Linked DNA regions of Homo sapiens: region 1 is linked to region 2. Evidence: promoter capture Hi-C in human tissues and cell types (Jung and others, 2019). All regions are on one chromosome and are shown on one strand. Each heading gives the region's core, a stretch centred on a gene start or on the middle of the fragment in contact. The rest is flanking DNA. Distances are from core to core; before and after follow the strand shown. Region 1 overlaps RUNDC3A (RUN domain containing 3A). Region 2 holds the start of NAGS (N-acetylglutamate synthase).

Region 1 (2,700 bases), core at 152-2,651, 310 kb before region 2:
CGCCGCCGCCTCCTCCAGCTGCAGCTGAAGCCGCCGGTTCTCCGCCTCCAGGTCCTTCAGCTGCGACTCGCGCAGACGCACCAGCTCCTCCAGGTAGCCCTGCGGGGCGCCGGCTCAGCCCGGGCGGCTGGGAGGACGTCCCGGCCGCGGCCCCCATCCCCGCCCCGCCCCGGGATGCCCGGATCCCCCGCCCGGCCCGCCCGCCCCCCGGGCCCGCCGGCGTCGCGCACCTTCTGCGCGTAGACGATGCGGAACTTCTGCTCCATCTTGTGCCACTTGCTGTACCAGCTGTCCTCATCGGTGACGAGCGGGAGGTACGGGTGCTCGGGCGAGTTGTCCTCGCTCGTGCTGCTCTCGGCGCTGTGCCGCTCCTCCTCGTCCGTCAGGTAGTCGTAGCTTGGGAGAGGGAGCAGTGGGCACGGCCGGTCCCGCCCCTCCCCCCGCGCGTCTGCGCTGGCCGCTGAGGGCGGTGGGACCAGGACGTCCCCAGGATGTCCCGAGGCCCCGTCCCCCGCCCCGCCGCAGTCATGGAGCCGCTCACCTCTGCGTGAACTTTAGGTAGGGCGTGTAATCGATGACCACGGGGGTCTTCCCGTCCAGGACTTCCCCCTTTAGACAGAAGCTGAGGCAGAGGAGCCACAGGGTTGGAGGTGGGTGTGAGGGGTTGGGGTAGGACATTTATGGGGGAAACAGCCCCCTCCACCACTGCCGTCAGGCAGACCCCACCTGAAGTCGATGGCGCTCAGTCCGATCAGCATTCCGGTGAGGATGGTGGCTTCATCCCGCAGCATGATGGCTCCAGAGTCATAGAACCGTCTGTGGGGAGGCAGAGGGCCAGAGGATGCAGCAGGCCCCTGGAGCGCCCCCCCCCCCCCCAGAGCTGCTATTGTTGGCTTACTGCCACCCCATCCTGAAGGAAGGCCAATTCTCCTTCCTGATCTGCACGCAGGCCTGGAGCCTCTCTCCCCCTTCAGCCTGGGGCTCGCACCTGTGGCCCCATCACCTAGAATGGGTGTTCCCTGAGCCGACTCCTCCCTCTGAGCTACCCCTTCCTCATCAAGTACTGGGTTACCCAGATCCTTCATATCAGGAAGCAAGTCTTAATCATTAGTGCTTGGTATACAGTAGGTGCGCAAAAAACGTGTTAACTTGAAACGTGTAGACTGAGGAATGGAATTCAGTAAAAACATCAGGCTGGGTATGGCCAATTGGGATGGGGAGGTATATGCCCCCCGCCACACCCAGACAGCTTCAGATGCACCTGCCCACACAGGCACACTCCTCCTTGTAACCCCTTGCCTCAGGCACCCAACCTCCCTGTGAACCCACAGTGCAGGGATTGAACTCCCCATATAAGGACTCTGTGTCCGTGAATAGCAAGTACAGAACTGCTTTCGTTGTTTGGAGAGACAGAAGGGCTGTGTTGTAGATCATGGAGCAAGCCAACACTTGAGATGGTGCATGGCTGAGGCTCATCCAGAGGTGTGCAAGGGTGGAGCGTGCTGGGCATTGATGGCAAATAATGGGCATTAGATTTGACTTGCAAGTGGTGGTGGTGGTGGTGGTAAAAGTTTGTCCTGGGGCCAGGAGCGGTGGCTCATGCCTGTAATCCCAGCACTTTGGGAGGCCAAGGCGGGAGGATCACCTGAGGTTGGGAGTTTGAGACCAGCCTGACCAACATGGAGAAACTAAAAATACAAAATTAGCTGGGCATGGTGGCGTATGCCTGTAATCCCAGCTACTCAGGAGGCTGAGGCAGGAGAATCGCTTGAACCCAGGAGGCGGAGGTTGCAGTGAGCCGAGATCGCGCCATCGCACTCCAGCCTGGGCAACAAGAGCGAAACTCCTTCTCAAAAAAAAAAAAAAAAAAAAGAGTTCGTCCTGGGACTGCAGGCCAGGCTGGAAGAGGGAAATCAGCCATGTGTGCTGGTGCTGGGACTTGTAGTCCAGGAACTGAAGGATGCTGCAGGAACTTAAGGATCAGCTGTGTTTGGGCAATGCAGGTGCACTCTGAGACCTGTGGTCTGAGTTGCCTGGGAAGTCTGACCTGGTGGTCCGGGTGTCACGCAGAGCCGTGGTGATGTATTCTGACATGCGCTTCTCCATCAGTGCCACCCGGATCCATGCCCGGCCCTGGAAATCATGTTCACCTTTACTTGCTGCCCCAGAGGGACTCATGTGTCCAGCATCAGGTGTGGGCCCTTCTCCCCTGGGCTGTGCACAGGGGGCAAAAACCAAGAAACAGGCAGGCCCCCTGTGTCCAGAGCAGAGAGCAGTTGCTTGCTTCAGGCCCCTCACCTTGGCCCGGGCTGTGCTGATGTTCTCCATGTTCTCGATGCTGCTCACACAGTTGTTGGGCACTTTGCTGCAGGCCAGCCGGATATAGTCCCAAAAGCCCCGCTGCCCGTCTGAGCTGAACCAGCTCACTGGACCTGCTGGGGCACAGGCTGAGCCAGGGCAGGGAGGGGGCTCAGCAAGACCAGGGAGTTTGGAGAGGGTCCATGTAGTGAGGCACTCACATGCATAAGCATAAGCAGCCTCCTCCCACAAAGATCTGTGCACACACATGCACGTGTGCAGTGGGCACCCCAGCATATCGCTTGCCCATGATGGGGATTGTAGGCCAAAGGCCTCTCCCTCTTCCCAGATCTGTACACAAGCTTCTGTGCATGGCCCAGAATGGGGGCCAGGGTCAATGAG
Region 2 (2,700 bases), core at 136-2,635:
TGCTCGAGAGGGCCCCCTCCAGGCCTGCCGGACGGGGCAGGGCGGGCAGAGTAGCACGCTCTGAGGACGCCTGGGCGGGCAGGGCGGGCACTCACCTGGCATGGGGAGCCGGCTCGGCAGCGCGTAGCACAGACCCGCCGCCAAAAAATGGCACAGCAGCGGCGGCGTTGTGTCGAAGCGCGTCTACCAGCACCTTGCAGCTCTTGGCCAGCTGCGCCTTGGCCTCCCAGAAGGAAAGACAGCCCGAGGGAGCCGTAGGGGCCGGCAGCCCCAGGACCACCAGCGGCTTCATGTCCATGCGCTGCAAGAAGGCCAGGGCAAAGGCCAGACTGGATACGCCCTGCTGGCACTTGAGCACCTCCTCGTCCACCTGCGGAGGAGTGGGCTTTCAAGGAGCGTGACACGGACCTGAGCCGCTGGCTCCCACAGCCTGGCCTGCAGGGCCGTCTCGGTGACCCTACCCTTCCAGAAGCTGTCAGGACCCAGTTCTGGCCACCAGTGCCCACCTGCTCCGCCCTTTGCCCCGTTGGGTCTTGCCACTCCCTTGTCTCACGCTGGGGTACCTCCCGCCCTCCTCCCTCCGACCTTGGACTCCGGGACATCTTTGGGGGAGGGGCAGTGCAAGCGGCTCCTGTCCAGGTCCTTCTGAACCCCTAACTGCGCCCATGTTGGGGGCCTTCTTCAGAGCATCACACCTGGCGGGTGGGGTCCCCCAGGATCCTCACTCGGGCTGGGCGGGAGGCTTCCGGAGGAGCTTACGGCCTCTCCCATTCCCGGCGGCGCTGGTCTGGGCCCTGCCGGGCTCCTTCCCGCTTCCGCTGCGCAGAGCCCGCAGCGTATCCTGCCATGCCTGAGGACAGGTGGCCGCACAACCCCATCCCCTCGCTGCGTCACGGCCCACGCCGGGCTCCGCTCACCTCGATGACGGCGAAGGGCTTGTCCGCGGAGTGATGGCAGGTCTGGAACTGCGTGAGCCAGTGGCGCGCCTCCCCAGGGCTGGCCCCGCACTGGTTCAGGAAGGCCTGGATGTCCCGCTGCACCAGCGAGCGGCCCGAAGGAGGCTCTGGGGACTCGTGGGGCACCGGGGGCCTGGGACTCGGCACCCACGACGGCTCCTCGGCGACGGGCGACTGGGAGACGTCGTCCGCGCCCGCGTACTCCTCGGGCGGGGGCTGGGGCTGCGACCAGGCGGTGCTGAGCCGGCGCCCCGGGCTGGTGCCCCTCGCCGCCCGCCGCCGCGCGCCACAGCTCAGCCTTCGGGCGCCCCCAGTGCCTCCCCGGCCTCTCAGCCTCGGGGCTACAGCAGCTGCCCGCAGAACCACAGCCATCAGCGCCGTCGCCATGACGACAACCAACTCTTGCCCCCCAAGAGTGGCAGTCTGTCTGGAGCGTCTGGCACTGGGGGGCTCTTAACTTGCCGTTGGGCGGGGCTGGACCTGGTCGGGGCGGGGTCCGGACAGGGGACCAGGAGTCTCCTCTGGGTGCGTTTGAGGAGGGTCAGGCCATGAGTCAGGGGGCGGGGCCACTAGGCTCCCCCGCCCCTGGAGGAACTGAACCCACTATCGGTCATGGGGCCGAGACTAAATGTGGCGGGTTGTCTTTAATCTGCTGCCAAGGTAGGTTCCAGGGGCGGCTTTGGGAGTCTGCAGGGCCTTGGATGATTGGCATTCTGACCAGAGAAGAAGGGACTGTAGGTGGCTTTGAGCACAGGGCTGGGCAGGGGGCTGGAAGGAGGGCGCTGGAAAGAGTAGAAGAAGGGGGGCAGTGGGAGGGCGGGGGCGGGTGGTGCTGGCCTTGTCTGTCCTGTTGCCTGAGCTCAAAAAAGATCCTAATGAATGACCATGAGGTTACCAGGGTTTGCCAAACTCCAGTCACTGGGTACCAGCTTGAGGAATTCTGTGATATCCTCAAAACACCCCTCAAAACTTATAATACTTTAGTGTTAATGCTTTTCTTTATCGAATATCACATCTGGTAAAAATAAAATAAAATAGAGTTTTTTATTTTGGTTTTTGAGATAGGGTCTCACTCTGTTGTTGCCCAGGCTGCAGTACAGTGGTGCAATCATAGCTCACTGCAGCCTCCACCTCCCAGGTTCAAATGATCCTCCTGCCTCAGTCTCCCTAGTAGCTGGGACCACAAATGCACACCACCATGCCCAGCTGATTTAAAAAAAAATTATTTTTTTTGAAGACGGGTGTTCACCATGTTGCCCAGACTGTTCGTGAACTCCTGAGCTCAAGCAGTCCTCCCACTTCTGCCTCCCAAGGTGCTGGGATTACAGGTGTGAGCTACTTCACTCGACCTCTGTAACCCTTTTTTTTTTTTTTTTTTTTGTTTGTTTGTTTGTTTGAGATGGAGTCCCACCCTATTGCCCAGGCTGGAGTGCAGTGTTGCGATCTCGGCTCACTGTAATCCCCGCCTTCTGGGTTCAAGCGATTCTCCTGCCTCAGCCTCCTGAGTAGCAGGGATTACAGGCAGACACCATCACACCCGGCTAATCTTTGTATTTTTAGTAGAGACAGGGTTTCACCATGTTGGCCAGGATTGTCTCAAACTCCTGACCTCGTGATCCACCTGCCTCAGCCTCCCAAAGTGCTGGGATTACAGGCGTGAGCCACCACGCCCGGCCCTCTTTAACCTTTTTAAACTTAAAGTTTATCCATGTTAGGTCTGTAACTAGGCCAGTATCACTTGCCA

Evidence for each region. Contacts are between HindIII fragments. The study calls those that stand out against the background at their distance.
Region 1: a contact is called between a fragment that was not itself captured here and the fragment with the promoter of NAGS in region 2, in 1 of the 25 tissues and cell types used here (spleen).

What each region holds. Positions count from the first base shown.
Region 1 is chr17:44,312,851-44,315,550 of GRCh38, reverse strand. RUNDC3A (RUN domain containing 3A) reads right to left here. Exons shown (of 11, transcript NM_001144825.2): 3 at 2,299-2,447; 4 at 2,048-2,133; 5 at 727-816; 6 at 542-622; 7 at 231-396; 8 at 1-99. Among named protein-coding and RNA genes, the nearest start is that of RUNDC3A, 5.6 kb to the right of the region's middle. The HindIII fragment of the contact is 4,634 bases long and covers 1-2,700 here.
Region 2 is chr17:44,003,307-44,006,006 of GRCh38, reverse strand. It overlaps NAGS (N-acetylglutamate synthase), which reads right to left and starts at 1,385. Exons shown (of 7, transcript NM_153006.3): 1 at 918-1,385; 2 at 96-370. The coding sequence starts at 1,343. It also overlaps a transcript of PYY not described here. RefSeq lists an enhancer at 1-462. The HindIII fragment of the contact is 21,260 bases long and covers 1-2,700 here.